3 separate regions of the Homo sapiens genome follow, and all the other regions are linked to region 1. The links are contacts of gene promoters, found by promoter capture Hi-C in human tissues and cell types (Jung and others, 2019). All regions are on one chromosome and are shown on one strand. The core of a region is centred on a gene start or on the middle of the fragment in contact, and the rest is flanking DNA. Distances in the headings are between cores, read along the strand shown.

Evidence for each region. Contacts are between HindIII fragments. The study calls those that stand out against the background at their distance.
Region 2: a fragment that was not itself captured here is called in contact with the fragment with the promoter of RORB in region 1 in 1 of the 25 tissues and cell types used here (lymphoblastoid cells).
Region 3: a contact is called between a fragment that was not itself captured here and the fragment with the promoter of RORB in region 1, in 2 of the 25 tissues and cell types used here (dorsolateral prefrontal cortex and mesenchymal stem cells).

The regions. Positions count from the first base shown.
Region 1 is chr9:74,495,206-74,499,631 of GRCh38, forward strand. RORB (RAR related orphan receptor B) reads left to right here and starts at 2,130. Exons shown (of 10, transcript NM_006914.4): 1 at 2,130-2,778. The coding sequence starts at 2,772. It overlaps RORB-AS1 (RORB antisense RNA 1), which reads right to left and starts at 3,348. Exons shown (of 5, transcript NR_125791.1): 1 at 3,037-3,348. RefSeq lists silencers at 1,766-1,978, 1,974-2,163, 2,068-2,362 and an enhancer at 4,032-4,426. The HindIII fragment of the contact is 7,823 bases long and covers 1-4,426 here.
Region 2 is chr9:73,173,132-73,177,557 of GRCh38, forward strand. No RefSeq gene overlaps it. Among named protein-coding and RNA genes, the nearest start is that of ANXA1, 23 kb to the left of the region's middle. The HindIII fragment of the contact is 4,050 bases long and covers 317-4,366 here.
Region 3 is chr9:73,462,083-73,466,508 of GRCh38, forward strand. It overlaps LOC105376084 (a long non-coding RNA gene), which reads left to right. Exons shown (of 7, transcript XR_007061581.1): 7 at 60-2,485. Among named protein-coding and RNA genes, the nearest start is that of ANXA1, 310 kb to the left of the region's middle. The HindIII fragment of the contact is 5,473 bases long and covers 1-4,426 here.

The DNA.
Region 1 (4,426 bases), core at 880-3,379:
TACATAGTTTTGAAAAATGAAATAATATAGTCTTCTAATTAATAATTTCTCCAAAAATACTCAGAAGGAATTAAGAAATATGTTCTAAGCAAAATTATGCCTTGCTGAAACCACAAAATAAAGAGAATATAAAAATGTATGGGGGGGTAAATACTTTTTATACACGTGTTGACTACCTTTTTCAAGGATTACAGATATTGCAGCATTAAAAAAAAATTCAGAATTCAATAAATGTTTAGAAAGTTAAAATTACATAAATGTTTAAATTTTTGGATTTTGAAATTCCTGTTCACTCTAAAGAGAAATAGAAATCTAAAATGATAACAACAACAATAATAATTAGACAATGTTTACAAAGCCTTTGGAATTTTCAATATTCTTGTGTCTCTGCTTGAAGCAACAAAATTAAAATGATATAGTCACAATTTGTTTCTTGACTATTTTATATTCAGTAATTTTTAATGAAGCAACTAAATTAGGCATAACTTTGTACAGCTTTAACATAGTTATGATGAATATATTTTACTTGATTAAAAATGATAAAACCAGGGAGCCTTAAATATTATCTTAAAAGATTAACTACTGTGTCAATTACAAATCTAGGAGAAAGATATTTATAAAGGAATAACTATTCTAAACAGTAACTTCCTTTTGTTCATTTCATTTAATTAATGACTCAATCAACTTTCACTCTTAATACTAAAATTTTCCTAAATTACACATTGGTTTGCAAATGGGATGGCATATAGCAGGGCTACGTCAATTTAATACTGGTGAAAATTCAGCAGATAATTCATTTTTCATTTAATCAGGAAGGAAAAAACTACTTGGCAGTGTAGAGCGACCTAATTAACTAAATAACTGCCAATTCTACATTGTACTTTGTGTTACATGACATATCATGAATAAATACCAGTCAAAAATCAAATTATTTGGATACTTAAATGATGATGAGGCCTGCTGTGCCAACAGGTATGCTAATGAGTAGACATCTCCCAGCCTCAAGACTGAGTGAATGAGGCAAATATTTTCACCTCCCAATCTTTTAGGGTGTTCAATTAACTCAAGTATTTAAGAAGTTCCCTACTATTGGGAAGGAAGTAGATGTAATCATCTATATGCTTATTTTGTCAACTGAGTTGGAAAAACTTGCAAAGGAACAGTTTGGATATATGTATTAGATTTTTATCAAAATACAAATAAATGGTCATAGATGACAATTTTCACCTAAGGAATACAAGTAAGTTTATCTATGTTCAGTTACCAATCGCCTCTAACTAAAGTTAACAATGTCTTCCTTCTAAAACCTTTCTAAAGAGCACCCTGCAATCACACCTTCTAGCAACAGCCATTTCTCTTGAATTAGTAAGGTGGCTACACCGCCAATTTGAGCTGTTCTCCTTCAGTCCTGTAGTCCATCGCCAGGGGAGTCTCCAAATGCTAATAAAAATCAATTTCCCAGACAAAAGAACATATACACGTTTTTTTCTTTCTTTCTTTCTTTTTTTTTTTTTTTTAGAAGAGGGTCAGGGAGCATCTGACGGACGTTTTTAAAGGAAGGGGACAGCTACTTCCATGGGACTGCATTTTAGTTGTGCTAAAAGTGATGAAAGTGGGTTTGCATTATTCTACCACCAACACCCAAACCACCTGCCCACGGAAACCCCCGCCGGAGACCGAAGTTTACCCAAATAGCGCTCGGCAAAGCGCTGCCATAAATTCAAAACTAACTCTGCCGGGCCCGCGGGGGTTGCGAGACAGGGACCGAACGTGAAACCCGGGGAGCCCCGCGTCTCTTGCCTCCGAAGGTTTTCCGTGATCAGTGTCCCCTTCTCTGCTGGAGTCGGAAGTGCCTGTCACCTGCGGATCTGCCCGACTCTCCCGGTCGGCCCTTCTTCTCTGCCCAGTTCGGACAGTCTCGAATTCCCCGTCGCAGCCCCGGCCACCTCGGACTCCCTGGTCCCCAGCCCCCGCCCCACCCCCCGCCTCCACCACGTCCCCTCCCCGCGGTCCCAGCCTCTCCAGGCGCTGCTGGGCTCTGATTGGCGGCTGCGCTGACAGCAGGCGGGGCCTGGAAGTCGCGGCCAAGCCCGCCCTCGCGTATAAGCCCCTCTCAGCGCTCTCTCTCCATCTCTCCCCTCTCTTTCTCTCTCGCTGCTCCCTTCCTCCCTGTAACTGAACAGTGAAAATTCACATTGTGGATCCGCTAACAGGCACAGATGTCATGTGAAAACGCACATGCTCTGCCATCCACACCGCCTTTCTTTCTTTTCTTTCTGTTTCCTTTTTTCCCCCTTGTTCCTTCTCCCTCTTCTTTGTAACTAACAAAACCACCACCAACTCCTCCTCCTGCTGCTGCCCTTCCTCCTCCTCCTCAGTCCAAGTGATCACAAAAGAAATCTTCTGAGCCGGAGGCGGTGGCATTTTTTAAAAAGCAAGCACATTGGAGAGAAAGAAAAAGAAAAACAAAACCAAAACAAAACCCAGGCACCAGACAGCCAGAACATTTTTTTTTCACCCTTCCTGAAAACAAACAAACAAACAAACAATCATCAAAACAGTCACCACCAACATCAAAACTGTTAACATAGCGGCGGCGGCGGCAAACGTCACCCTGCAGCCACGGCGTCCGCCTAAAGGGATGGTTTTCTCGGCAGAGCAGCTCTTCGCCGACCACCTTCTTCACTCGTGCTGAGCGGGATTTTTGGGCTCTCCGGGGTTCGGGCTGGGAGCAGCTTCATGACTACGCGGAGCGGGAGAGCGGCCACACCATGCGAGGTAAGCGAGTCTGCGGGCACCGAGGCTCCCCGAGTCCGGCCAACTCCAGCCAGACGGGGAGATGGGGGAGGGGAGGGCACCCAGCAGAAAGGGAAAGAGGTTGCCCAGGCGCAGTTCCCCGAATTCGCTCTCGCAGGTGGGGCTGCAAATGGCCTGGGCGTAGAAAGTTGCGGGAAGGTGTTGATGTCTTTCGGGAGTTCTGGAGGGACGCGGGAGGGCGCTTTTTTGGAGAGGGGAGACAGGCTAGTTGGTTCTTACCAGTCCTTGAGTTGCACTGAATCTTTTTTGCTTGTCGCTCTCGGGTGCGGAAGCGGACGCGGGATGGAGAAAGCCGAAAGAGGGATGCCTCTGGACAGGAGCAGTTTGGAAGCGCCCGGCGCGCAGTGGTCGCCGGCCGGGTTTGGGCGCGCGGGGCGCACCGGCCGGGGGCAGGGTGGACACGCGCGGGCACACACTCGCCAGGTTACGAGGCCCACTAAGCGTCCTGGCCAGCAGGCATGTCCCTTCGCTGGAGTAGCAAGCAGAAGAGCAGTGCTGCGAGGCTGGACGCGGCTGAGGAAACAGTTAGTTCCCCGGCACGCGGCTGAGGAAACAGTTCTGCGGCGCGCGCCTTCGTGCCGGCGCTGCGCCCTGGCCAGGTCCTCGTGCCCGAGCCCGCGCGGCCCAGGGAGTAGTGCGACCCCGGAAAAGTTGTAATGAGAAAGTTCTGGAGGCTTGGAAAGGCCACACTGCTCACAGTCGGAGAGTCATGGGCTCCGGCTCTTTTGTCAGATAAAGGGCCGGTAGTGGAAGGAGGTGCTGGTGCACCCTCGGGCCAGGACCCTCGCAGTCGCAGGCGGTGGCGGCGGCGGCGGCGGGACCCCGGGGCGAGCTGGGGTCTGCAGGGATGCGCGCCAGGGACTGTAGCGTTACGCTTGCTCCGGCTGGACTCTGGGCCTCTCGAAGGGCTGGAGGGTGGGTTTCGGGGAGTCACTTGGTCTCCTCTCCTGCCTTGCCGGAGACCTCAGGTTTCCTTCGCGCTGTGCTCGGCCTTTCTTCACTCTTTTACTGAAGAGCCAGGCGGGTGTCCGCTTGACATGGGGATCTGTGCAAGCTCTGGGCACCCACCCCCACTCCCAGTCCCTCTTCCTGGCCACACAGCGGTTAATCGGGGGCTCTTCTCTATCCTTCGCACGTACCCCTGGGTCTTGACAACAGAAAGTTAGTAACGGCCAGCTCCAGACCTTCTTGCATCCCAGACCCGGAGAGAGGTGGTCTAGGCAGGGAGCACTTGGGAGAGTTGGGATGCAATCACTGGTCTCCTCCTTCCACTGAAAGTGATCCTCTCCCACCCAGTCCCCCTACGCCCCTAGAGGAGCACCCCAGGAGGCAGCGGGTCTCACTCCCACTCCCTCCCGCACCCGGTGAGCCCCGAGCCTGGACTCAAGGGTTTGCTGGCTGGACGCTGGGATGTGTCAGGAAAGGGAAGGAGAAGAAGGAACGGAGAGAGACTGTCCATGGGGGAGGGGGTTGACTGTAGATAAGAAACAAGGACGTCCTGATGGGATGGTCTTGATTGGCCGGCTCGCTGGGAGTGGGGCACCCGTGTGTGTGCGCGCTGGCTCCAGCTGATTGTCCCGGTTGGGGGTTGGTTACACGCTCCACTGTC
Region 2 (4,426 bases), core at 1,092-3,591, 1.3 Mb before region 1:
CTCTTAACTTGCCTACACCTCTAAGGAAGTACACCTCAGTATTCCCATAATTAAAACAATCGTCAAATGTCCAGCTTGTTATACTAGCCATTTCCTTCTAGGGCCCTGTCTGACATACCTTCCGAAAGTGCTGAACTTACTTACTTTATCAAAACTACTTGGAAGGCTCCTGAATAAATTCTAGACAAGGTGACAGGTAAGTGGATACACAAATGAATAGGAGAGCCACCTCAGTAAGTAGTAGTAAAAAGCAAAATTTTAGAAAACAAAAATATATAGCTTTCCATAATCCATGGAAAAAATGGTAAGGTGAATTTCACTAAAATTAAAAACTTCTTCTTTGCAAATACACTATTATGAGACTAAAAAGATAAACTACAGACTTGGAGAAAATTTTTGCAAGACAAATATCTGTTAGAGAACTGATAAACAAAAATATAAAAAAACCTCTAAAGTCTGAACAGTAAAAGAAGTTAAAAAATTTTAAAAAATAAGCGAAAGATCTGAACAGGTACCTCACTAAAGAAGATATAAAGATGGTAAATAAGCATATGAAAATATGCTCAACATCATATATCATTAGGGAATTGCAAATTAAAACAATGAGACACCGCTACACTCCTATTAGAATAACTAAAATCCATTCCATGTCAAGCAACAGAAACTCTCTTTCATTCCTGGTGTGAATGCAAAATGGCACAGCCGCTTTGGAAAACAATTTGGCCTTTTTTTTTTTTTTTTTTTTAACAAAGCTAAACACAGTCTTACATCATTCAGCAATCATGCTCCTAGGTATTTATGCAAACAAGTTGAAAATTTATGTCCACAAGCAAGAAACCTGCACACAAATGATTATAGCAGGGTTACTTGTCATTTCCAAAACTTAGAAGCAACCAAGATGCCTTTCAAAAGGTGAGTGAATAAACAAACAGTAGAATACTATTTAATAATAAAAGGAAATGAGCTATCAAGCAAAAGACATGGAAGAATCTTAAACACATACTGCTGAGTGAAAAAAGCCAGTCTGAAAGTCTACATATTACATGATTCCAACTATATAAATACTGAAAATATTGAAAAAGACAAAACTTATGGAGACAGTAAAAAGATCAATGATTTCCAGGGGTTAGGTTGAAGGGGGGAGGGATAAATAGGTGGAGCACAGAACAGTTTTAGGGCAATGAAACTATTCTGTATGATACTATAATGGTAGATACATGGCAGTTACACATTTCCAAGAACCTGTAGAACTGTATAATACAAAGAGTGAATCTTATGTAAACTATGGATATTGGTTAATAATATATCAAGGGAAAAATAAGGGAGAGGTAGAAAGGGTGTATGGAGACTCTAATTTCCGTGCAATTTTTCTGTAAACCTAAAACTGCTCTATAAAAATAAAGTCTATTAAAATAGCTATCTAATTGTAAAGCTCATAATATAGCCAGGGAGAAAAAAGCTATGCAAAATATGATGGTATAATGTATTAAAGGTAATATATAGGCACATAGGAAGCGCTTTGGTAAATCAAGAGAGAGTAATGGATTCAGGAAAGGCTACAAAACAGCAAAAACCTGAATGGCTAGTGGCATTTCATATTCCTGAATGAATTAATTATCTTTTGTATTGAGAATTAAGACCTAACAACTATAATTAGATGCATTTTTACAAAAATATTATTCTGTTTTCAAATAAACCTGGGAGGGAGGTGTTATCTGCTTTCTACAAATGAAGAAATCAAAGTTTCCAGATTTCTCTGGACTTGTCCAAGTTCATACAGTAGGTCAATGAATAAACACAAATTTGAACACAGGCTTTCTGACTATGGATCCATTTCACTAAAGTTACAGGAAGAAAATTATGAGAAGAAAGACCATAGATATGAGGGAAAAATGAAACTAAATGAGAACCTGCTTCAGATGCCAGGTCTTGTTGCAAGATACTATTATAAAATAAGTTGGTTTTGTCATGGAGTAGTGGAAACTCTGTACAATCAGTGAGGAATCTCTTAAACACAATGGTAATAATATTTTCAAATATATAAAAATCTAGGAAGTATATATAATAATAAGTACATTTTTACCCAAAAAGTAAAAAATAGAAATATTGTCTTTTGCTTACAGATATAGTGATTTTTTTTTTTTGGCAAATCTAATAAACAAGGCCATGAAATGCAATTGTATATTTTCTACTTTTTTTGATATCATATTCCCCTTCAATGGTTAGGTTTAAAGAAAAAAATACTTGAGAGTTGTAAATGTCAAATATTAGAAAGAAATATATTTATTATCAAGATTTAGGAGAAAAGGCTGCTCTGCTTATGGAGTAGCCATTCTTTATTTCTTTACTTTCTTAATGAACTTGCTTTCACTTTACTCTATGGACTTGCCCCAGATTCTTTCTTGCGTGAGATCCAAGAACCCTCTCTTGGGGTCTGGATCAGGACCCTTTTCTGGTAACATCTTCCTGGTGACCATGAAGGGACTATACTGAAGAGACCCCTGACCTGAAGGAAATAGATTGCAGCACCAACTTTGAGAAAGTGGTGGGGTACATTTTACCCCAGTAAAGGATGATGTTGGGTTAGAGGCCCAACTTAGGAGAGTCTCTCCTAAGACAAAGAAGGTTAAAATTCCCCCCACCCCACTTTTTTTTTTTGAGACGGAGTTTCGCTCTTGTTGTCCAGGCTGTGCAACCTCTGCTTCCCAGGTTCAAGCCATTCTCATGCTTCCGCCTCCCGAGTAGCTGGGATTACAGGCATGTGCTACCACACCCAGCTAATTTTTGTATTTTTTAGTAGAGACGGGGCTTCACCAGGTTGGTCAGGCTGGTGGAACTCCTGACCTCAGGTGATCCACCCACCTCGGCCTCCAAAAGTGCTGGAATTACAGGCGTGAATAAAAGGCAAGGACGCTTGACCAAACTTGGGTTTGAGGACCAGCATAGGAAGGTTAGAGTGCTTCCTAAAATGTAGGGGGTTAGAGGCCCCTCTCAGTAAAGTCTCTCTTTGTTAAAAATGGATTTGGCACTATGGGATGTTAACCACTATTCTCTGTGGATTAATCTGCCTTGCACTGTTTGCTGATGGCTATGGGTGAAAGGATTAGGCGTGTACAGGATCATGGGACATGGGGAGCTTTTTCCTCCCCAAAGGGGGAAACTTGAGAGCTGATAGGACCCCTGGAAAAGATCCCTTCACAACTGTCAAGCGACCGCCTGAACTTTTGATTCAGTGTTGCTACAATGGGTGGGTCTTTCTCTGGCCTTCCTGAGCTACTTGCCTTCCCTACCTCATCACAGGCTATGCTTTTCTCTCTCTTTCTCTCCTTTCCCTTTCCTATCTTTTCTTTTACTCAGGGCAGCCATCTTTCCCAGAGACCACGTGTTGAAACTTCTTTAATCCACTTTGAATGGATTAAAGATGACAGAGCCTTACCAGGGGCAAGTGTGAGCCTTGCCAGTTCAATACTGGCACTAAGCTGAGTGACTAATGTCTATATTTTGTCACACGTATTTTGCTCTGCCCAGATGGCAAATGTTAATGTGGTTACCCCATGCAACCCCTTGGGTGGCACCTTACAATACTGAGAAGCTTTTGTTTGTGATTCCACAAAATGCCAGTCTCCTTAGTCACTCAGCTTAGTGCCAGTAGGGCGTGGCTTCCCCCCCAGCTCTCCATCTTCTTTGGGCGGCATACTTTTCAGCACTCTCTGTATTCCCCTGCACTGGCCTTCTACAAGCCTTACTCTGTCTATGCTTCCTCCTGTCTCAAGGGCTTTGGACTTCCTCAGCCTAAACACTATATTTTTCTCATTTCATTCTTGTTAACTTTGCTAATTCTTCAAATATCAGCTCAAATATCTCATAGACCCTTTTAACACTACATATCTCTGTACTATATTAAATGCCAGAGTTGTAATTTTATATTTAAGCGATTATTTAGTTAATATTTGTCACTTCTTCTAGAATATGAACAGGTTGTTTGCATAGACTATTTCTTTTCTTTCTTCTTTTTTTTTGCCTTTTATTGTTGTATTGCTATTGTCTGGTACAATAGCTAGCACTTAGTAAAATTATGACAAAAAATGATAGCTTGTGCTATTACAGGTTAGCTCAAAGTGCTTATTCTTTATGCTAAGGCATTTGGTGGACATCAAGAATTATACTCGAATACCAAGGATACAAGACTGGAGCACTGCTGTGTCATACGGTCTCTCTAGCTCTCTTTTCTTGGTTAGTCCAACATGTTGGGGAAAAGATCCATTCTAGAGAAGACACCAGGGCCACAACTGCAGCAGGAAAGTTGCTTTACCTCAAGGACTAGCATGCTTCTGTAAAATCTCTTAGGGATGGAGTGGTTCTACCATTTCAAAATAGCCCTAATTGACAGGGAGCATTTGTTTTCAGCATTTTGCTTTTTTGCTAA
Region 3 (4,426 bases), core at 1,442-3,941, 1.0 Mb before region 1:
AAAAACATATGATCTTCTTTCCTAGTTCAAAATTAATCTATGACTCTTCTTAATTCCAGCAGTTGTGACCATAGATGTGGAGGCTTAAATACTTGTTCTCAGTTTTCAAGTCTTCCTTCTTCCAGCTGAAATTCTCATCAAAATAATGTTTATGCCACACACTTTCTCCCAAATATTACTTCATTAATTTAGCCATGTGATCAGGGTATCCTTAAATTAATGAAGAATAACTATAAAAAAACTTTGTTGAAAAGCTTGCTAACAGGAATGAACAGAGATGTGGGTGTGGAAAGTTTTCAAAAGTACTTTAGCATGAAGGATGCTGTATGTATGCTGTTGTCAACACTTGGAACACAGTGACTAAAGTTGCCCATGCCTGGCACAACCTATGGCCCGCGAGCATGTTCCATAGTGATGATGCACAGAGTGGTGACTTTGAAAGATTGGGTATGTCACGTGAGAAAAAATATATATGTACCGTCAGAGTCCATCTGTAAGCTGAAAGAAGTGGATATGGAAGACATTTTTAACATCGATAATGATGCTCCAGTTGTTCTTTCATTGGCCAATGGTAAAATAGTTAAAATGGTTCTGAATCAAGGTGATGTTGAAAATAATGATGATGAAGATGACATTGTTAACACTGCAGAAAAAGTGCCTATAGATGACATGGTGAAAATGTGATGCACATATTGAAGGACTAGAACAGCATGTATTCATAACAGAAAAAGAAATCATTATAGTTTATAAAATCAAACTGAGAGTTCTAAGACAAAAGCTATTGTTAATGAGGCAGATGAATCTGGAAGAAACATTTAAAAATAACAATTGATACAGGTATTCTGATAATGCTACTCTGCTGCTTAGTTACTCTGAACACATTAATTTTTCACTGTATCAATGGAATTTCATATTTTGTAATGTTAAGTACTTATATGTAACTAAGTATAAGAAAATGATTGCTTATTGGTAGGATATAAATTCAGAGTCAGGAATGACGTTGATGTCAAGCAACCAGATTGTCCACAGGGTTGTCTAAAATAGTGACACCTTTGCTTCCTGATGGTTCAATGCACACAAACTTTTTTCCTGCACAAAATTATTTGAAACATTGTATAAAATAATCTTTAGTCTATGTATATAAGGTGTATGTGAAACATAAATATATGTTTTTATTTAGACTTGGGTCCCATTTCCAAGATATTTCACTATGTATATACAAAGATTTCAAAATCTGAGGAAAAAAAAGCTGAAATCTGAAACACTTTTGGTTCCAAGCTTTCAGATAAGGGACACTCGACGTGTATACTATTATGGGAAGAGCGTATATGTTTGTTCTCTTGATGTTGCCCTTAGACATCTGATTTGTATTGATCAGTAGATTAGATGTGAAGAACAGAGGTCTTAAATGTGCTTAAACATTGTGTCCTTCAAGCTTGTGATCCTCTAGGAGAAGAGCATGCTCAAACATAACTTTGGCCTTTTCAGCCAGTGTTCCGAAACAGACATAAATGGAGAGAGACCTGAACCATTCCTACAATCTGGATTTAAGTCTAGACAACATAAAGCCTGAGGCACAGCCACCAGTTTCCATGAACATGGGAATAATGCTGATGTAACCTACTGAATTATGAGATATTTTGTCAACAGCAGTGTGGTGGAAATAGCTGATGAATAGAGTCTACATATACTTCAGAAGCAAACAAATAATTTTAATTCATGCACCTGGATAGTCATGGTTTGTATACATGACAGTCATTGAATGTCTGTCAAGAGAATAAGGGGTATTTGTACATTATGAACATAAAAATGTTGACACTATCATTAGTAAATAAGAAGACATGCAATACTGTTAATGTGTTATATATTACAATGTCATTTATGTAAATAGATGTAATTTTATACACATTGTATTAGTCAACACTATCCAAAGGAACAGAGCCAATATTGTTTGTGTTTGTGTGTGTGTGTGTGTGTGAGAGAGATGTATACACAAAATCTCTCTCTCCCACTCTCTCTCTACAGAAAGAAGGTGAGATAAAGAGATTTTAAGAAGTTGAGTCACAATTATGGGGTCTGTCACATCAAAAATCCACAGAGCCGAAAATCCATATAATTAATCATCACAATATATATACATAAGCATATATTTGCTCTATGCTATACTCTGGAATACATTTTCTTTCTCCTGTGGTGTTATTCCCTATGGCCCTGGATCACTATTTAGATGTTTAAAAAAGATTGTTTATTGCCCTGGCCTGAACTTTGGGGAAAGATTTTGGGAGAAGGAGGTCTTTTCTTTCAATTCTGTCACTTTCTATATATTTTTTAATTTCCTATCCAAGTGCATGTCAGAAATTACCAAGGGCATTTACTGTTTTATGATGATTCAAAATAGAATTCTTGACCAGGAGTAGTGGCTTGTACCTGTAATCCTAGCATTTTGGGAGGCCACTGCAGGAGGAGATTGCTTAAGACCAGGAGTTCAAGACCAGCCTGGGCAATATAGTGAGACCTCCTTGTATTAGACCATTCTTTTTTTATATTTTAAGTTTCACACTCTCTATTTTTGTTTTGTTGGCTCGATTTCTCATTCCTCTTTTTATTTTCATTTTTTACTTCAATAGGTTTTTGGGAAACAGGTGGTGTTTGGTTTCCTGGATAGGTTCTTTAGTGGTAATTTCTGAAAATTTGGTGCACCCTTCACCCACGCAGTGTACTGTACCCAATGTGTAGTCTTTTATCCCTGAACCCCCTTCTACCTTTTCCCACAAGTCCCCAAAGTCCAAATTATCATACTAATGCCTTTGCATCCACATAGCTTAGCTCCTACTTATGAGTGAGAACATACAATGTTTGGTTTTCCATTCCTGAGTTATTTCACTTAGAATAATGGTCTCCAATTCCATGCAGGTTGCATTATTTCATTTTTTTAATGTCTGTGTAGTATTCCATGGTGTGTGTGTGTATATATATACGTATGTATATACATATATGTATATACATACATACATATATGTATATACATATATATATACATACATACATATATGTATATACATATATATATACATACATACATATATATATCACATTTTTTTCTCTATCCACACATTGATTGATGGGCATTTGGGTTGATTTCATATTTTCATAATTGTGAATTGTGCTGCTATAAACATGCATATACAAGTGTCTTTTTTGTATGACTTCTTTTCCTCTGGGTAGATACTCAAGAGAGGGACTGCTGTATCAAAAGGTATATCTACTTTTATTTAATAATTCTTTAAGGAATTTCCACACTGTTTTCCATAGTGTTTGTACTAGTTTACATTCCCACCAGCAATGTAAAAGTATTCCATTTCACCACATCCACGCTAACATCTATTATTTTTTTATTGTGGCCATTCTTGCGGGAGTAGGGTGGTATCACATTGTGGTTTTGATTTGCATTTCCCTGATAATTAGTGATGTTGAGCATTTTTTCATATGTTTGTTGGCAATTTGTACATCTTCTTTTGAGAATTGTCTATTCATGTCCTTAGTCCAATTTGTTATGGAATTGTTTTTTTTTTCTTGCTGATTTGTTTGAGTTCCCTGTAGATTCTGGATATTAGACCTTTGTCAGATGTGTAGTTCATAAAGATTTTCTTCTACTTTGTGGGTTGTCTGTTTGCTAATTATTTCTTTAGTTGTACAGAAGCTTTTTAATTTAATTAAGTCCTATCTATTTATCTTTGTTTTGTTGAATTTGCTTTTAGGTTCTTGGGCATGAAGACTTTGCCTCAGCCTAAGTTTGTTGTAGATTCTGGATATTAGTCTTTGTCAGATGTATAGATTGTGAAGATTATCTCCCACTCTGTGGGATGTCTGTTTACTCTGCTGACTGTTCCTTTTGCCCTGCGAAAACTCTTTGGTGTAATTAAGTCCCACCTATTTATCTTTGTTTTCACTGCATTTGCTTTAGGGTTCTTTGTCATAAAATCCTTGCCTAAGACAATGTCTAGAAGGGTTTTTCCAATGTTATCTTCTAGAATTTTTATAGTTTCATTTCTTAAATTTAAGTCCCTGATTCATCTTGAGTTGATTTTTGTATAAGGTGAGAGATGAGGATCTAGTTTCATTCTCCTACACGTGGCTTGCCAATTATTCCATCACCATTTGTTGAAGAAGGTGTCTTTTCCCCACTTTATGTTTTTGTTTGCTTTGTCAAAGATCAGTTGGCTGTAAGCATTTGGGTTTATTTCTGGGTTCTTTATTCTGTTCCATTGGTCTATGTGCCCATTTTTATACCAGTATCATGCTGTTCTGGTGACTGTGACCTTATAGAATACTTTGAAATCAGGTAATGAGATGCCTCCAGATTTGTTATTTTTGTTTAGTCTTGCTTTGGCTATGCAGGCTATATGTTTGGTTCCATACGAATTTT